Regions from separate parts of the Homo sapiens genome. Here region 2 is linked to region 1. Evidence: promoter capture Hi-C in human tissues and cell types (Jung and others, 2019). All regions are on one chromosome and are shown on one strand. The core of a region is centred on a gene start or on the middle of the fragment in contact, and the rest is flanking DNA. Distances in the headings are between cores, read along the strand shown.

What was found. Contacts are between HindIII fragments. The study calls those that stand out against the background at their distance.
Region 2: a fragment that was not itself captured here is called in contact with the fragment with the promoter of LRRTM2 in region 1 in 1 of the 25 tissues and cell types used here (hippocampus).

The regions. Positions count from the first base shown.
Region 1 is chr5:138,872,280-138,877,205 of GRCh38, reverse strand. LRRTM2 (leucine rich repeat transmembrane neuronal 2) reads left to right here and starts at 1,871. Exons shown (of 2, transcript NM_015564.3): 1 at 1,871-2,298; 2 at 2,650-4,926. The coding sequence starts at 2,295. The coding sequence ends at 4,196. The region is part of intron 7 of CTNNA1 (catenin alpha 1); the gene reads right to left. The HindIII fragment of the contact is 3,441 bases long and covers 1,537-4,926 here.
Region 2 is chr5:138,825,494-138,830,781 of GRCh38, reverse strand. CTNNA1 (catenin alpha 1) reads right to left here. Exons shown (of 18, transcript NM_001903.5): 7 at 3,064-3,267. Among named protein-coding and RNA genes, the nearest start is that of LRRTM2, 47 kb to the left of the region's middle. RefSeq lists an enhancer at 1,783-2,283. The HindIII fragment of the contact is 9,361 bases long and covers 1-5,288 here.

The sequences.
Region 1 (4,926 bases), core at 622-3,121:
GCATTCCCCGGGTCTAAACCAGGACTTGTTTCCTTCCCTTCTTTAACCAGCAAGAAGGAACAAAGAGGACGTACTAGTGCAGGCTCATTACTAAGGACTCAAGAGTCTGTTCACTGGCAACTTTGGCTTGGGAATTTCCATTCAGCCTACAAAATGTGTCTAAGAACCACAATGCCAATCTCATCTTCTTTGCTTCCTCTGTCCCTTCACAGGTGTCAGACCTGCCCTGTGGTACGAAGACTCTCAGAGCATTCCTGCTGCCTTCTGTCTCCCTTTGTACTTCGTAGGCATTTTTGCCTCTTGTACTTCTAATTCTACCTTGGGATCACTTCTAGGAGGACTCAAACCACACACCTGCACTGCTGCAGTTTTCATAGCACCTTTACACAGAGCCCTAAGGAAGGGACCTTGGAGTCTCACAGCTCTCACTCCAGCACAACACTACAACAGAAAAATTTTACCCAAGACAATTACTTCTTAGATCTGCCCAGTGGGATGAATCCCTCAGAACCAAAAAGGCCAACGATGTTCTTGTTTCACAGACACCATCAGTAGTTTTAAAGATGTCTGTCCTTAGGTCTGAGACAAGACCCACAAAGGGTAAGTGCCAATGATATGGGAGAAATAGGTATGTTGGGTCAAATCAATAAGGCAAGATGTAGAAAAGGGCTTACCTTTGTCAGGCCTGAAAATATAACATCTAGAAACATCTTTTGCATTTATATAACACTAAACATGGAGCTATACATCCACAACTGAGGTCTGAAAAGTGAAGACACCATTCAACAGGGAGAAACTGGAGTTAGGGCAAGCAAAATCAAGTCAAAACAAAAATCCCAGTCCAAAGCATGAGTGACCTTTTGTATTCACAAGACAGGTTCTAACAACAGCAGTAGGCTCAGTTAAGTCAGCCACTTGGTGGCTGGGAACTAGGGTGCAAATGCTCTATTATTTCAGTGTCACAACCACCAACCTCAGTACCAGCGGAGGCTTTTAGTTATGGAGTAGGTGAGATTCTGAGGTAAAATACAAGGGGCCATGTCAGAATCCAGCTACACGGTATCACTTGTCCTAAATCATCTCTGCTTTGCTGTTAGGGCATGTGCATTAAAATGACTGTATCAACCTGCCTTGTCCTCCCAGGAGGACATTTAAAGATCAACTCAGCATTATTTTTTCAATCAGTATGGCGACAAAACATTGTTATAAAATAGGAGAAAGAGAAATCTTTTTAGAGTTCCCCTGAAATTCTCAAAGAAAAAAATAACCACATGCTTTGTTTTGCAAGCTTCCCCTCCCCCTTTATTCTTCGTTTATAATGTTAAGCTCTTGATGACAAACAAGCCAAGCCCACTTAGCTAGTTTATCAACACATCTAAAGCAAATCATAGTCATACTTTGATTTTAACCAAGCATGACAACAAGGCAACTGAATAGCTTTCCAAACTACCAGTGCAGCGACACTACCTTGCATAGGCTGGTGTTAAATCAGCACTTCATAAATTGTGCAGGCTTCTGCCCATTTAGATGATCTCTCTATGCAGAATCGGCAGTCTAACACTGGCTCTCACAAGCATTAAAAATCATCACTCTGCTAACCCAACTCACTGTTCAGATGGGTCTTCTTGAATGCAGCCTTTATTACAACCTCACTGCTGCTTCCTACACTGAAGGAATATCATGTTTTTAAGTCAGGAGTTCTTCTTTCTCGCTTTATTGTAATCAGGGGGTCCTGCAACGACCCCGATGCTGTTACAAAGCATGGTGCTTTATAACAGTAAAGCTTCTGGAAAACCCAAACAAAAGACACGTCATCCGGTGACGTCAGCCTATATACAGTTCTGTGTGGTCGCAGCACATAAGCAAATCCATTCTTGTGCCGTTTCTCGGAAAAGCTTTTCAGTAAATGCACTCATGCTGCTCCAGGAGCTCTTCTCTGCAACAAGCCACCCATCTGCCATCAACAAGTTAAGACCAAGAGAACTAACGGCTGCGGAAAGGAGACTGAAGCTTTGATTAACCAGCTGAGCAGTTAGAGGTGGAGAAATTTAATAACTTATATTCAAAACTGATTTAGGGATCAGAGCAATCACAGAAAATGAAACCAATGCTTTCCAGAGGGATATCCTAAGGAAAAAACAACTCGTCCTGGTGGATTCAATTTTACTTGGAAAGCCTGGGACACAGAAAACAGGAAACTGGTCAAAGGCTCCTACATGTTAGAGCCTTTTACAGACTCACTGCGTTGAGTCTAACAACCGCGACTGAATGCAGCCTCCAATGTGCTCAGAAGAATGGGTAAGTCTGTGCATTTATATGTCTTGTACATTCAACAAGGAATCACGCTTTTAAAATAAGCTACCGAATTCACATTTTATGAGGGAAATCACCATCATATTTTGGATTTTGAGGTTTAGGTAAAAGCATATATCGATGATGACAGAGACATGTTTTATCTTCTTTTTAAATGGCTTAAGTTTTGGTCCAGTCATACCAATAAGGTTAATTTTTCTGCAGTAAATGAAAAATAAGTTATATGCAGTGAAATCTTTTGCTATAATGTTGGTGGTGGTTGTTTTTTTTAAATAGCCCATATGTTCTGCTGAAAAATATCCTATCTTCTTGTTTTCCTTAAATTATATTCTGCAGGCTTACATTTCAAGTGGCCATTAGGGGCCCCTATGCTGGCAGCAATATATGCAATGAGTATGGTTTTAAAAATGCTGCCTGCCCTGGGTATGGCGTGTCCACCCAAATGCCGCTGCGAGAAGCTGCTCTTCTACTGCGACTCTCAGGGCTTCCACTCAGTGCCAAACGCCACAGACAAGGGCTCTCTGGGCCTGTCCCTGAGGCACAATCACATCACAGAGCTCGAAAGAGATCAATTTGCCAGCTTCAGTCAACTTACTTGGCTCCACTTAGATCACAATCAAATTTCAACAGTAAAAGAAGATGCTTTTCAAGGACTATATAAACTTAAGGAATTAATCTTAAGTTCCAACAAAATATTTTACTTGCCAAACACAACTTTTACCCAACTGATTAACCTGCAAAATTTGGACCTGTCTTTTAATCAGCTGTCATCTCTGCACCCAGAGCTCTTCTATGGCCTTCGGAAGCTGCAGACCTTGCATTTACGTTCCAACTCCCTGCGGACTATCCCAGTACGCCTGTTCTGGGACTGTCGTAGTCTGGAGTTTCTGGATTTGAGCACAAATCGTTTGCGAAGTTTGGCTCGCAATGGATTTGCAGGATTAATTAAACTGAGAGAGCTTCACCTAGAGCACAACCAGCTGACGAAGATTAATTTTGCTCATTTCCTACGGCTAAGCAGTCTGCACACGCTCTTCTTACAATGGAACAAAATCAGCAACTTGACATGTGGGATGGAGTGGACCTGGGGCACTTTAGAAAAGCTAGACCTGACTGGAAATGAAATCAAAGCCATCGACTTGACAGTGTTTGAAACGATGCCCAATCTTAAAATACTCCTCATGGATAACAACAAGTTAAACAGCCTTGATTCCAAGATCTTAAACTCCCTGAGATCCCTCACAACCGTTGGTCTCTCTGGCAATCTGTGGGAATGCAGCGCCCGAATATGTGCTCTGGCCTCCTGGCTGGGCAGTTTCCAAGGTCGGTGGGAACACTCCATCCTATGCCACAGTCCTGACCACACCCAAGGAGAGGATATTCTAGATGCAGTCCATGGATTTCAGCTCTGCTGGAATTTGTCAACCACTGTCACTGTCATGGCTACAACTTATAGAGATCCAACCACTGAATATACAAAAAGAATAAGCTCATCAAGTTACCATGTGGGAGACAAAGAAATCCCAACTACTGCAGGCATAGCAGTTACTACCGAGGAACACTTTCCTGAACCAGACAATGCCATCTTCACTCAGCGGGTAATTACGGGAACAATGGCTTTATTGTTTTCTTTCTTTTTTATTATTTTTATAGTGTTCATCTCCAGGAAGTGCTGCCCTCCCACTTTAAGAAGAATTAGGCAGTGCTCAATGGTTCAGAACCACAGGCAGCTCCGATCCCAAACACGACTCCATATGTCAAACATGTCAGACCAAGGACCGTATAATGAATATGAACCCACCCATGAAGGACCCTTCATCATCATTAATGGTTATGGACAGTGCAAGTGTCAGCAGCTGCCATACAAAGAATGTGAAGTATAATATCTACCCATCATCAAAAATCACATCAGATAAGTAACCTATTTTACATAGTAGAGGCTAAATACATATCTAATTTTTACCAATGGTGACATTAAGCCTAATTTTCCAAACTAAGTGGAGACTTAGTTTTTGAAGTGTTGAAGTATTTTTAATTTTTTAAATGAAACCATATTTTAAGTGTTAAATGAATCAATGCTCACATTAATTTGCACTCCTGTTGGAAAGTCTAAAATGCTTACTTCAAAATAAGAAATGTATGTAATTATATACAATCGTGTGTAAACCTTTACACTAAGGTCTCCATATACTATTTTTTTCTACTGAAAACAATTTAGAAAGAAGCTATTGGGCAGAAACAGATATAGATCAATACCTGTTTGATCACTGCTCTCCATCCCATGTACCACAACTATCTTGCTGCTTAAAAGGAGACTTAGTAAAGTTCTCTTGTATGATAATTTGGTATTTACTCAAATCTTCAATTTCTTGCCAGGGTGGGAAGTAGAATTTCATGTATGCTGAAGACTGGTAAATATTAAACATTCTCCTTCCAGAGTTTCTGCCTGGGTTAGTAGATATTATCAAAGTCCATATCATGAATTCAGAACCCTTTAATGTAATTCTAATAAGCTGAGTGACTCTTTAATATATTTACACAATGAATCCAAGTGACTGTGAAAAGGTCTCATTACAATGAAACCAATCCTAAATAATTACACCAACTTCTTAT
Region 2 (5,288 bases), core at 1,513-4,012, 47 kb after region 1:
AGGGAGGGATCAGAGCCTCATTCCTCCTCTTACATTGTGCCCAACACACTGCTTTGCATGTGTCACATACTCAGAATGAACTGACTGACAGGCAGACATTGCTGGTTATATTCTGACACTCACTAGAGGTTCTAAATGTTTTTGAATGCTTCATAAATAAGCAAAAATCTATCCCCAGTTGCTTCTGCTTCTTCCAGACCCTTTTATCATTCTAAGCTTTCTTCAAGTGTGCTCCACTGCCCTCACCGTTTATCCTCACTCCAGTGCTTTTTGACAGGACCAAGCCTGTTCACTGTTACGTGAATCAATAAAAGGAAACTAAAGATTTTTACCTTTAGGAGAAACATACCCAGAGACCATCTCCTAAAATACATTTCTAAATCTCAAGAAGATTTCTTTCTTTTGTGCTTTTTTGTTTTTGAGACAGAATCTCGCTCTGTCGCCCAGGCTGGAGTGCAGTGGTGCGATCTTGGCTCACTGCAAGCTCCGCCTGCTGGATTCACACCATTCTCCTGCCTCAGCCTCCCGAGTAGCTGGGACTACAGGGGCCCCCACACCACGCCTGGCTAATTTTTCTGTTTTTTGTTTGTTTATTTTTTGGGTTTTTTTTTTTTTGAGATGGAGTCTCCCTCTGTTCCCCAGGCTGGAGTGCAGTGGCGTGATCTTGGCTCACTGAAAGCTCCGCCTCCTGGGTTCACACCATTCTCCTGCATCAGCCTCCAGAGCAGCTGGGACTACAGGCGCCCGCCTCCATGTCCGGCTAATTTTTTTGTATTTTTAGTAGAGACAGGGTTTCGCCACGTTAGCCAGGATGGTCTCTATCTCCTGACCTTGTGATCTGCCCGCCTCAGCCTCCCAAAGTGCTGGGATTACAGGTAATTTTTCTGTATTTTTAGTAGAGACTGGGTTTCACCATGTTAGCCAGGATGGTCTCAATCTCCTGACCTTGTGATCCGTCTGCCTTGGCCTCCCAAAGTGCTGGGATTACAGGCGTGAGCCACCGTGCCCGGCCAAGATTTCTTTCAAGATCCCTACCATAATACTCAAATTTCAGCCTCACATCACACATTGTTCCAGTTTTCATTTAAGAATGCTACTGCAGTCTCCATGTCTTCAGTATAAATGAGTGCTTCCCACCTTTTCTTACACTGATGGCATGAATAGACAGTACTGTTTGTATGGCACTCTAGGTTTCGAAACCTCAAGGTTACTCATGACCAGGGGTGATTGGCCCAAGAATGTGACCAACCTCAAGACTCAAGGGATATCTTATAGACTGATTAGGAGGCTCTAAAACGGAGCAATCGGAACAGATTTATCACATCCTCCTTCCCACCAAAGTCTGTTTTTGAAGTGATTTCCTCATCATAACTACATAAGACACTTTTACACCATTTCCAGCACTACCCATGATAGCAGATGACTGATCCACTTACCATGAGTTTTTGTTCCCCTGTTTAAGACTGCAACATTGTGAGCCATTCTGCAACATATCCATCTTTTAAAATATTTTCTAATGTTCAATCTTAGCTATGGATTTTTAAATGTGTCCCACATTTTCACTGTGACTTAAAAACCACTTTTTCCATTTGATTTAACAAAACCTCTAATCTCATTTTTCTTAAGTAGACTGCCTATAATCAAAACATGGCTTTTTTTTTTGAGACACTCTCGCTCTGTCGCCCAGGCTGGAGCACAGTGGCGCGACCATGGTTCACTGTAGCCACAACCTCCCAGGCTTAAGCGATTCTTCCGCCTCAGCCTCCCGAGTAGCTGAGACCAGGCGTGCGCCACCATGCCCAGTTAACTTTTGTATTTTTTGTAGAGATGGGATTTCACCATGTTGCCCAAGATGGTCTCAAACTCTTGGGCTCACGCAATCCACCCACCTCAGCCTCCCAAAACGCTGGGACTACAGGCTTGAACCATCATGCCCAGGGGGCAATGGCTTTAAAAAAATTCAATATGCATCACTAATTTCACAGTATGGTAGAGACAAGATAAACAGAGGAAGGCATTCATCTTCACCCTAGGAATTCCACCATGATTTACCATCACCCATTAACTTTTACAGGCCTGTAAGTGAACAGACAAGATGTATGGCAAACGAACAAATGAGAAAGAACCAAGATCTTTTTTTTAGGTGTTAAACAGGTAAAAAACGCTAGTGATGACAACTAATTTGTGTTGTTGTCCTTCTTCCCCTTAAAATGATTTCATATAATTTTTACTTAATTTATTGCTAATTAGCTACAGTAAAATATTGGGTCCAAGGTCTAAATGACAGGAACCCTAAGCTAGCATTAAATAACCAGAATAGAAGAAGTATAAGCGAAGGAAAAAAAGAAAGACATATGGCAACAGAGAAAAATCAACAAATATAGAATTTTCTATGGCCTTTTAAAAAAAAAGTGGGTATCAAATTTCATAGCCTGGGTTTTTATGCACAAACCTTCAAAATTCAAAAACACTATCCAGAGTTTGCTTTATGTAACTCTACTTGGCAATTATCTACTCTTGTGACATTCAATATGGTTCACGAAAAAACTTTCACAACTATAAATATTGAGGAGGCAGGTTTTCAACATTCCCTTTTGCCCAAAATTAGCCACCTACTTGGGATAATGAAACTTTAGTGGTATAGAAGGTCATTATTCTTTGGAGAGGCATGCTAAAATATTAGAGGTGAAGCATCACAATGTCTACAACTTTCTTCCAAAGGCTTCGGGGGAAAAAAGGATGTTTGTGTATATACCATACATACATATACATTTATATATACACACACCTACACATGTATCTACATGTTAATTGATGAATACAGATAAATTTCCTAGGTATTCACTGTATGATTTTTATAAGTTGAAAATTTCTCAATAAGCTGGAGAGAGGAAAGAGCCACTTAGCCATTTATCCATTTCTTTAAAAATCTGACCTACTCCCAAAAATCAAGGAGTCAAGGACATATTTGGTATTTATAGTGAAAACATCTCAGATCCAACATGTTATAGAAAACTCCTCATCCATAAATATCTTACTTCAAAGAAAAGCTGTCAAACTCACATTGCCCATGTACTCCGAAAGCAGGTCCTGCAGGGCCTGGCGGACAGCATTACACTCTGCCACAATTCGCTCACGACGGTCATCACGCGTGCAGGACGAGTCGGCCATCAAGGCAGCCCCACTAATGATGCTTTCCAGACGCTCCTCCAGGGAAGGCCTAAAGCGCTCCTCGCTGAAGCTCAAGGGGTCCACAATGATTTGTTTCTGCAGAGAAAGTATTACCGAATGTTAGTACTCATCTCTGTTCCCTTCTTTATTCAAGGTGAGAAAAGTGTTATTAGTAATATCAAGATTTAACACAAAAATTCCAACATCTGAAAGAAAGTTATACTTCTTAGCAGGTAAGGGGCTGTCCCACAGAAGATGGCCTACTGTTGATCACTCCTCAAAGAAAGCAGTGGAAGTAATGCTATGTAGCCAAACAAGGCATGATAAGGTATGATACCACAAATACAAACATATCATGCTCACACAACTTATTCTGAACATCTAAAGGTAAACCCGTATAAGACTAGCAATTCAAATCATCAGATGAGAATTACAAGGAAAATAAAAGTTACCTCTTACTTGCAGAATATAAAACTGCCATGTGATATTTAGAACTGTTGCACCACAAAAAAATTAAAAAATAAAAGCCAAACAAGCCAGGTGTGGTGGCTTATGCCTGTAATCTCAACACTTTGAGAGATTGAAGGAGGATTGTTTGAGGCCAGTTGAACACCAGCCTAGGCAACGAGGCAAGACCCTGTCTCTACAAAAAAATAAAATAAGTTGGGCATGGTGGCACACGCCTATAGTCCCAGCTACTCGGGAGGATCACTTGAACCCAGAAGTTCAAGGCTGCAGTGAGCTATGATTGTGCCACTGCACTCCAGCCTGGGTAACAGAGCAAGACTTTGTCTCTTAAAATATATACACGTGTGCGCACACATACAAACTGATCTCTAACCTTAAAGTTTCAGAAAGAAATGCATTTACAATGAATTTCCATCTATTTGCCTCATCTTACACATCTAATCAAGTTTTCTAAATAATTCAGTCTCAAATTTATCCTGTTATGTCTAAATTAGAGACTTCCTTTCCTCAAAGACCTCTAGTATTCTGTAAGAGATGATAGCAATCCTCCCAAAAACCTAAGCTGTGAGGAAGAACTGCTCCAATAAGAATAAATCCTTTTTCTGTCTCCCCTTCCCTCCTGACTCCACTTACATCCAGCTTTTCTAGCATTTAGTGAGGTCTGGTCACAAGTAAGCTATAGGTACAAGGTGAAACATCGGCATCCTCAAGACAGCAGCTACTGGCCTCCCTCCAATTCCTCCACTTGATATAATTTATCCTCACCCTGATAAATGTCTGTGCAAATATTATGGCTTTAATTTTTCTTTACAGAGACTATGTCCTTATTGATTTCAACTTAAATGCCAAATTTTTTCTACCAAAACCTTGCCCTTTTCCAATAAGTATACATTTCTTCCTTCCCTTCCAAAGAACCCTCAGTTTTCAAACTGAACATGCAATACCTTCAGTTCATTATTAACCTACACATTTTAGCTGATCATTTTTTGTAAGGTTAGGTTATTACAGGATTTCTCTGGTCAAAACTGAATACAAAATGCTTTCTGGCCAACAAAAATGAGAAATGAATGGTCATAGAATTTTAATAGAGTAACAGAGCCTCAATGAGCCTGAGATCATTTAGCACAAACCCTCATTTTACAAATACCTGTGTCCCTGAGAAGTTAAGTAGCTTCTGGTAGATATTACTCAACTTAGGGCAAAATGTGCTACTACCCTGAAAGATACCTAATACTGCCAAATTTTGAAGGGGGGAAAAACAACATTGCTAGTAAATTTTAACATGCACCATAAGAGTTTGTTATAAAATAATTTAATGTTTAAAGCTCCATGGTAAAAACTGAGTTCTAACACCATGGTCTTTAGACTTAACACTGCCTTCTTGCTTTATGAAAAAGTCTTAAATCGGCCATGCATATCAACAAGGATCAGCTACCTAAGCGAAAGTAAAGTGGCAAAAGAAAGAAAAGGTAAAGGCAAGGAAAAACTTAAAAACAAAATGCACTCCATTGTAATTTTTTTTTATTCTATATTTCATAGCATCCCTACTTTATGAAAGGATGCTGGTCACCTGGAACACAATTTCTGTTTTTTGGTTTGTTTTTTTTTTTTTTAATTAGCCCCAACAGTTACTTTTAAAGCCCTAAAAA